Linked DNA regions of Homo sapiens: region 1 is linked to region 2. Evidence: promoter capture Hi-C in human tissues and cell types (Jung and others, 2019). All regions are on one chromosome and are shown on one strand. The core of a region is centred on a gene start or on the middle of the fragment in contact, and the rest is flanking DNA. Distances in the headings are between cores, read along the strand shown.

What was found. The method cuts DNA at HindIII sites, captures the fragments that hold promoters and counts their contacts. A contact is called where the count stands out against the background at its distance.
Region 1: a contact is called between a fragment that was not itself captured here and the fragment with the promoter of SYNGR2 in region 2, in 1 of the 25 tissues and cell types used here (pancreas).

The regions. Positions count from the first base shown.
Region 1 is chr17:78,484,646-78,489,186 of GRCh38, reverse strand. DNAH17 (dynein axonemal heavy chain 17) reads left to right here. Exons shown (of 81, transcript NM_173628.4): 45 at 2,681-2,963; 46 at 3,054-3,227; 47 at 3,430-3,637; 48 at 4,154-4,319. It overlaps DNAH17-AS1 (DNAH17 antisense RNA 1), which reads right to left and starts at 4,277. Exons shown (of 6, transcript NR_102401.1): 1 at 4,025-4,277. RefSeq lists a silencer at 4,245-4,474. The HindIII fragment of the contact is 5,977 bases long and covers 1-4,238 here.
Region 2 is chr17:78,166,980-78,171,566 of GRCh38, reverse strand. SYNGR2 (synaptogyrin 2) reads right to left here and starts at 2,986. Exons shown (of 4, transcript NM_004710.7): 1 at 2,852-2,986; 2 at 513-750; 3 at 1-57. The coding sequence starts at 2,950. RefSeq lists silencers at 2,524-2,683, 2,714-3,323. The HindIII fragment of the contact is 23,749 bases long and covers 1-4,587 here.

The DNA.
Region 1 (4,541 bases), core at 1-2,500, 320 kb before region 2:
GCAGCACAGTGTGGCCAGGGTTTGAGAGGGATACCAAGTGGAATGTTCCCTATGGGGACAGGGCCAGGAGCTGCTGAGCCTGGGTGCCTCTGTGCCGGCTTCTCCAGCAACACTTGCCTGCTTATACAGCATTCTCCAGCTGCTGAAACAATGACCACTAATGGGGCAGCTTCAAACAACAGACATTTATCCTCTCCCAGTGCTGGAGGCCAGAAGTCAAGGAGTAGGCAGTGCTGGTTCCCTCTGAGGCTCTGCGGGAGAACCTGTCCCAGGCCTCTCTCCCAGCTCCTGGGGGCTCTCGGCGGTCCTTGGCATCCCTTGGCTTATGGACACACCCCTCCCATCTCCGCCTCTGTCTCCACGTGGCCTTCTCTGTATGTCTGTGTCCAAATTTCCCATTTGCTTATAAGGACACAGTCATTGGATTCAGGGTCCACCCTAAATCCAGGATGATCTTGTCTCAAGATCCTTGATGACATCTGCTAATGCCCTTTCTCCAAATCAGGGCACATTCTGGGTTCTGGGTGGACATTCTTTTGTAGCACCACCATCCTACCCACTGTACCATGTGTGGGAGTTTTCAGGGTAGGCAAAGACAATGTCCGGGGAACTGAAATGAAGCCTGGGTAGGAGCTGCTGAGACACGGGGACAGGAAAAAGACAGGATCGTGGAGTCCTCAGGGGGACACCCTATGGGAGCAGAGAAGAGGGAGCCAGAAACGAAGGCAGCGTGGGCCAAGGCAGGAACTGGACACCTCCAAGGAGTGACCTGGAGGAAGCAGGAGGAGGAGACCTGAGTATTGGCAGAGGAGAGAATGGAAATGGGCGAGAAGCAGACACAGGGTCCCCAGACAGCAGGAGCAGCCCTCCTATAGGCAACTGCCAGGGGCAGGGATGCCGGATGCACCCAGGATGGCCTTGGGGACAGGGCAAGAAGCCGTATGGACCAGAGGTGAGAAAGTCGGCCTGTCTCGCAAGCATGTGTCTCTCCTGGGGCCTGTGCTACGCATATCAGAGACAGCACACACACCGACCCGCACTCAGTGACTCCTACCAAGGCAGCATCACAAATTTTTGACACAAACATCTTCAAAGTAGAAGGCAGAAAGCAGCAGCCTCTGCGTAGATTTGCAAATCAATCTCCCCTACTGAAGACCAACTGGACTTGGAATTCAGTTCTTAGTTGCGACAGGCATGGAGACACCCTGATTCGCTTAGGGACATAGAAAGGTTTACTCTATTACGCTGGATAATACAGGGTGCTATGCGGCAAAGACGTTCAGCTCTTAATTCTCTCTTGTGATAGAGGTTCAGGAAGAAGCGGAGCTCCCCCAGAGCACACTCACAGAAGAGTGTGTGTCTGGCCAAGCACAGTGCCTCATGTCTGTAATCGCAGCACTTTGGGAAGCTGAGGCGGGCAGATCATCTAAGGTCAGGAGTTCAAGACCAGCCTGGCCAACGTGGCGAAACCCTGTCTCTACTAAAAATATGAAAATTAGCCAGGTGTGATGGTGCACGCCTGTGATCCCAGCTACTTGGAAGGCCGAAACAGGAGAATTGCTTGAACCCAGGAGGCAGAAGTTGCAGTGAGCCGAGATCGCACCCCTGCACTACAGAGCAAGACTCCATCTCAGAAGAAGAAAAAAAATGAGTCTCTGTCTAAAGAGGCACGTCTGCCGGTCAGCGCAGGGCAGGCTGGCTGTGTGTGTTAACAGGAGCTTCCTGCTTAGGCCCTGGGCATCCTGGAAATGATGCACGTGCTGAGCTCACTGGCACTCGAGGGGGCCAGGCACTAGTGATGCTTTCAGCAGATGCTGATTTGGCAACACTTACCCTGGACCAGGCCCCCTTCTCTGAGCTTTAAAAATATCAGCCCATGTAGTCCTTGGAAATGAGGGTCATGGAAACATCACCCCTGTTTACAGATGAGAAACCAGGGACTCAGGCATGTGCAGTAACCTGCCTAAAGCAGCAGCTGGCCATGGTAGAGCTGACTCAAGCCTGGGCAGTCAGGCCCCAGAGTCCACACCCCTCACCGCCGTGGTGGGCCACCTCCACACGAGCCACCCAGAGATGTCTGTGGCCAACAGTCTGGCACGGCTCTTCAAGGATTGCTGGTTGTATTGATTTGTACTCTTACACTGAACATGGCAAATTCAACTCAAACTAACTGAAGCTTAAAAAAAAAAAAAAAAAAAAAGCACCAAGGGGTGCTTCAGGCATGGCTGGATTCAGGAGTCCAGATGATGTAATGAAATGTCCCTGCTCCTATCCTTGTCTCTCCTTTCTGCTCCCTTACTGTCCCCACCTTCGTGCCCCCCACATGACATCATGAGATCTTTCTCCTTTTCTGTTCTGCCCCATCCACCAGCCCTTGGTATGTGCTTCCCGTGTGGTAGCAAGAATGGCTTCCAACTGTTCTAGACCTACAGCACCCCCATAGCTAGCAACCCCAGAGAGGGCACAGCCCCCACGACCCTGGCATCCTCCTCCGACCCTTTCAGGGCCTGCAACTGGCCCCTCTGGCACCCTCGTTTGGACCCATTGCCATGCAGGCATGGTGACCCTGAGGGCAGCCCCAGCAGAATTGGGTGGAGGTAGGGAGGGGCGTTTACCAAGGCAGGGACACTGGCAGACCCAGAGCAGCGGCTGTGTCATCGGCGCCTCCTGTCACCCCCAGGGTGGTGAGCAGCTGGATCGAGAGGCGCAAGGTGCAGTCGGAGAAGGCCAACCTGATGATCCTCTTTGACAAGTACCTGCCCACGTGCCTGGACAAGTTGCGCTTTGGGTTCAAGAAGATCACGCCAGTGCCGGAGATCACGGTGATCCAAACGATTCTGTACCTGCTGGAGTGCCTGCTCACGGAGAAGACCGTGCCCCCCGACTCCCCCAGGGAGCTGTACGAGCTGTACTTCGTGTTCACCTGCTTCTGGGCCTTCGGTGGCGCCATGTTCCAGGACCAGGTGATGCACCTGGGGGGCCCGGCCACCCACACAGGGTCTCTCAGCATCCTGCTTAGCTGGGCCCTGATTTTTACTTCTGTGTCTCAACAGCTTGTGGATTATCGAGTGGAGTTCAGTAAATGGTGGATCAACGAATTCAAGACTATCAAGTTCCCCTCGCAGGGAACGATTTTTGACTACTACATTGATCCTGACACAAAAAAGTTCCTGCCCTGGACAGATAAAGTGCCCTCCTTTGAGCTGGATCCCGATGTCCCACTGCAGGTAACTGTCCCCAAAGCAGGGCCACCGACTGGTGATTTAGAGGCAGGAATCGGTGCAGTACCCTCCACACGCCTGCACGGAATGTCCAAACACAACCGATTTTCAACATTAGGACCTGTTCGGTAGAACATGGCCTGCACACCCACGAGAGGCAGAAGTGTCTGAGAATCACAGCTCCCTCCCCTTCCCTCCCCTGCCCCAGGCCTCTTTGGTCCACACCACGGAAACCATCCGCATCCGCTACTTCATGGACCTGCTCATGGAGAAGTCCTGGCCGGTGATGCTGGTGGGGAACGCGGGGACGGGCAAGTCGGTGCTGATGGGGGACAAGCTGGAAAGCCTGAACACGGACAACTACCTGGTGCAGGCTGTGCCCTTCAACTTCTACACGACCTCAGCCATGCTGCAGGGTGAGGCTGGTCCGGCCACGCCCTGCCTACCCGGCTGCCCCCCGCCAGTCCCCGTTCCCTCCTGTCCCCTCTCACTGCAGGCCCAGGCACTCACTAGCCACTTTGCACCTCCTCACTTCCCATGCCCCACCCGCTGGCCTTTCCTTCCTGAGTCGGAGACAGAGGAGGAGCAGCCGGGACCCCTCTTTCTGGTGCTCCCTTGTGGGCATGGTGATGGGGTTTTGATGGCCAGTCGAGGCAGCAGGTCCCCCGGGAGTGTCTCAGCCAATCTAAGGCGACCCAAAGGTGACGGAGAGCAAGGTTCCTGCCACCCTCGCCTCTGATCGCTCTGTTTATTCCTGGGGCTGTACCCGGTGCCCCCTCAAGGGCCACTCCCAGGGCAGGTACCTTTGGTAAACTTGGATCCCAGCCAGGTCCCACCTTCTGTCCTCCGGGGAAGCAGGTAGCGCCCCTCCCTACCTAACAGGCTCTGGCTCAGGAGGCGCAGGCGGGCAGCTGACCCTCTGCCCTCTCTAGGGGTGCTGGAGAAGCCGCTGGAGAAGAAATCGGGGAGGAACTACGGGCCGCCAGGCACTAAGAAGCTCGTCTACTTCATCGACGACATGAACATGCCCGAGGTGGACAAGTATGGGACGGTGGCCCCGCACACCCTCATCCGGCAGCACATGGACCACCGGCACTGGTTAGACGGGGCGGGGCCGGAGGGGAAGGCGTGGCCCCGGGGCGGTGAGGGCGGGGCCAGGGCGGGGCGCAGGAAGAGGCGGAGCCCCAGGGCAGTAGGGCAGGACTGGTGTGGGGCGGTGGGGGGGGTGCTGCAACGTGGGTAGGGAGACACGGGTCGTAGCTGGGCCCCCAAGTTTGTGGGGCCACAAGGCATTGAGGTAGGGCCAGGGTAGGGGAGAGG
Region 2 (4,587 bases), core at 1,737-4,236:
CTGCCCACTGGTTGGTGAGGAAGCAGAAACCAACAAACCACAGGAAGGTCCAGAGAGCTGGGGGAGGACGGGTGAAGCGTCAGTTCCATGGAAAGGGAGGGGCTTTCCAGGACTCTGGGAGGGGACGCGGGCAGGTAGGGCAGGGACCTCCCGGGGGAGCCTCCACACTATGGAGGGGAGGACTTGGAAGCCGGGCCGGGAGCCACCTCCAAAGTCCCCCACACTCGGGCCTTGGCAGGGTGGGCCACAGCAGACAGCCTAGGGGACAAAAGGGGCAGAGGCAAAGCCCATCTGCTCGGGTGTGCTGCAGGTCCACTCAGCTTCTAGCTACCCCAGGCAGGGCTGGTGCCATTCAAGCACGGAAAAACACTAGCTGAAAACCCTTTCCTAAAAATGCCCTGGAGGAGTGAGCTGCTCCCTGCCCCTCCCAGAGAGGCCGAGACCCTCCCAGCTGCGGAACCCTAGAGTTAATGCCTCCCCCAAGATCAAATGGAGGTGCCACAGGCAGATACCTGAGAAGAGCAGGTCACCAATGACCAGGTACTTGCGGTCAGTGGCGTTGCTGATCTGGGGGAAATACGCGTCGACCACCAAGAAGAAGGCCGAGGCCAGGAAGGCCAGCACCCCGATGGCACTGCCATAGCGGCAGGCATCCTCGTTGCGGTTGAACACGCAGTACATCTGCTTAGACTCGTGGGCATTGCTGTAGCCCTCACCATAGATGCAGGAGAACACGATCAAGGCGAAGACCTGCCGGGAGGGGAGGACCTGGTAGGGCTGGTGGCCGCCTGAGGGGCACACACAGCGGGGACCCTGATGGGGTGTACAGATGCTGGCCTCTCCCACTACTGCTGTCCCCTTTTGGGTTTTTGTTGTTGTTTGAGATGGAGTCTTGCTCTTGTTGCCCAGGCTGGAGTGCAATAGTGCGATCTCGGCTCACTGCATCCTCTGCCTCCTGGGTTCAAGCAATTCTGCCTCAGCCTCCCTAGTAGCTGGGATTACAGGTGCCCTCCACCACACCCGTATTTTTAGTAGAGATAGGGTTTCACCATGTTGGCCAGGCTGGTCTGGAACTCCTGACCTCAGGTGATCCACCCTCCTCGGCCTCCCAAAGTGCTGGGATTACAGGCATGAGCCACCTCGCCCAGCCTGCTGTCCCCTTTTGGAGGCTGACATCTTAGCCCCTCCAAACTTGTGGAGGTGAGCTGATGAGCAAAGTGCTTCCTGATGCACCCCAGGATGAGAATCTGCAGGCACCAGGGGGCCTGCCCCTGGGAATCCTGGACCGGGGAGGGGTGGGGAATGGGCAGGGACCTCCTAGGCAGGGGCTGCTCCTGCCCCATCGGCCTGCTGCAGGAATCATTCTGCTTAGGTACCTGATGGATGAAGGGCAGTCCTTCCATCCCCAGCCCAACCTCACCTTGAAAGAGGTTTAACCAAGACAGGCCAAGTCACAAAGACTACCCATCCCCCGTCACCTTCAGCCCAAGTCACTTCTACAGCACCCAGCCTCTGCCTGAACACCTTGGTGAAGGTGGACAGGCCCTCTTGGGAAGGCCATGCTGGCGCCCCTGTGTCTTCACCTCCTGGAACCCCTGGAACCCTCCCTGGTTCAGCCTGGCCAGCTGTCTCCACACAAGGACTTGCAGCCTCTGTGGCATCCTGGTCCCTCCCAGTCTGTCTCCCACCCCACAGAGGGCCCTGCATGCACAGGGCACTACAAGGGGACTAACTCAGGCCTGTGGATACAGCTCTGAACTCAGACACCTGGAGGACCCAGGGTGGATGTAGGGGAGCTCCAGCCCCTTGGGAAGAGCCCCATACCACCTCCCTAAACTTGAAGGCCACCACCCACGCCTGCTCCACCTCAGCAGGTGTGGGACAGGTCTGTGAGCATCAGGATCCCTCTGGGATGGCCCCAGGACTCTCCCCTGCCAGTCCTGCCCTGTTGTCCCAGGGAGCTCTCCATAGGGCTCTGGAGCTGGCAGTCACAGGCCCCGCCCCCAGATGGAGATGAAGCCGGATCTCCGGGATGATGGGAGCAGGGTGCCCATCCAGGACTCCTGGCACTGCCATCCCGACCCACTGGGCACCTGATTCTTGGACACAGCCCAGGACAGAGGCGATCAGATCCCACAGCCTGGCTGGGAGCTGGTGTGGGCGCCCTGGAGGACCTCAGAAGCTCCAGGCCCAGGCATGGTCTGGGCACAGCAGGCCCACCTCTGCCTGCCCCCTCATGCCACCCCCTCCAGCTTTCAGGGCTGGCTGTCCAAGAACAGGCCCCCTCCCCGCCACACACACACACACACAAAACCTGGTTTTGGAGGTATTGCCCACCTTACAGGGAGGGGGTACATCTTGGGGTCCCTCAACTTCGGGTGGGAAGGCGGACCCGTGGCCTGCCCCGAGTGGGAAGGACACCCTGTTTCCGGGCGTTGGGTCGCCCCCCGCCCCCTCCCTTACCCCACGTGGCTTCGGAAAACCCCGTCCCGGTGAACTCCCCAATCTGGGAGTCGCGGCGTGCGGGCCACCTGTCCGGGAGCCGCCCCCAAACTCCTCCCACTGCCAGCGAGGCAGGGGCCCGCTCCCTGCGGAGATCCGGACACCCCGCGTCGGGGCGCGAGGCTGGGGGTGGGGTGGGTGGCGGGACCCGGGACCGGGAGGGGACAGCGGGACAGACTGTGGAGGGCGGGAAGGCGGGGCCCGGGACGCTGGACGCCGGCCCCGCTCGCCGCCAGGCCCCGGACGCGGCCGCCGCCACCTGTCGCGCTCGTGGGCTAGGGGCCCCGCCGGGCCTGGCGACGGAGAGGGGGTCCCCAGGGTGCCCTCGGCCCGCCCTCCCCGGGCTCACCAAGCACACGGCGCGCGCCACCACCTGCGGCTGCGTCAGGAAGCGCCGCAGGTCGAAGGAGCCGCCCGCCTTGGCCGCGCCGTAGGCCCCGCTCTCCATGTCGCCGTCGCCGCCGCTGCCGCCGCCGCGGAACGCAGAGGAACCTGCCCGGCGCCCCGCCCGACTCCACCCGCCGGGGGCGTGGCCAGGCGCCGCTAGGGACCGAGGGCAAAGTGCGGCCCTCGCGAGCGGCGGGCGAGCCGCGGGACTGCGCTTCTAGAGGCGGGGAGGGGCTGTGGCCGCGGAGCACCCGGGTCCACCCCACCTCGGGGTTGAGGGGCTAGTCTCCGGGCCACGCCGGCCGCAGCACGGACCAGAAAGGGTCAGAGAGTCCCCCGGGAAGACGGACGAACTGAGGACCGCTCACCCTCTTTGCCCCTGCCCTCCCACCGCCTCCTCTAGGAAGCCCACCACCTACCAAGAACCCACCCAGGCTCATAAGCAACCCCTCCCCCATCCCACTGAAAAACCCAGGCCACACCCTGGAGCCCCTCCCTGCCTGGCCTGCCACTCTTTCCTCCTCTCTGGGGCTAAGCCTGGGGTAGGGTCAAAGACCCCCTCCCCATTCCTCCTGGTCTGGGCAGAGCCCCAAGGCTGTGAAGGGCAGTGTGGCGTCACACTTAAGATGGTGTGCAAGGCCGGGAGCGGTGGCTCACACCTGTAATCCCAGCACTTTGGGAGGCCGAGGCGGTTGGATCACCTGAGGTCAGGAGTTCGAGACCAGCCTGACCAACATGGAGAAACCCCGTCTCTACTAAAAATACAAAAATTAGCCTGGTGTGGTGGTGCATGCCTGTAATCCCAGCTACTCGGGAGGCTGAGGCAGGAGAATCGCTTGAACCTGGGAGGTGGAGGTTGCGGTGAGCCGAGATTGTGCCATTGCACTCCAGCCTGGGCAACAAGAGCAAAACTCTGTGTCAAAAAAAAAAAAAAAAAAAAAAAAAAAGATGGTGTGCAAGGCCGGGCGCAGTGGCTCACACCTGTAATCCCAGCACTTTGGGAGGCCGAGGCGGTTGGATCACCTGAGGTCAGGAGTTTGAGACCAGCCTGGCCAACATGGTGAAACCCCGTCTCTACTAAAAATACAACAACAACAAAAAAATTAGCTGGGCGTTGTGGTAAGCGCCTGTAATCCCAGCTACTTGGGAGGCTGAGGCAGGATAATTGCTTGAAACCGGTAGGCAGAGGTGGCCGTGTGCTGAGATCGAGCCACTACACCCCAGCCTGGGCAACAGAGCAAGAGTCCATCTCAAAACAAACAAAACAAACAAACAAACAAACAAACAAACAAAACCAAAAACGAAAGTTAGCGAGGCGTGGTGGCAGCTACTAGCAGTCCCAGCTATTCCAGAGGCTGAGGTGGGAGAATTGTCTGAGCCCAGGAGGCGGAGTTTGCAGTGAACCAAGATCACGCCTTTGCACCCCAGCCTGGGTGACAGAGTAAGACCACATATCGGCCGGGCGTGGTGGCTCACGCCTGTAATTCCAGCACTTTGGGAGGCTGAAGCAGGCGGATCACGAGGTCAGGAGATCGAGAACACCCTGGCCAACATGGTGAAACCCCGTCTCCACTAAAAATACAAAAATTAGCTGGGCATGGTGGCGCGTGCCTGTAGTCCCAGCTACTTGGCAGGCTGAGGCAGGAGAATCGCTTGAACCCGGGAGGCGGAGGTTGCAGTGAGCCGAGATTGCACCAT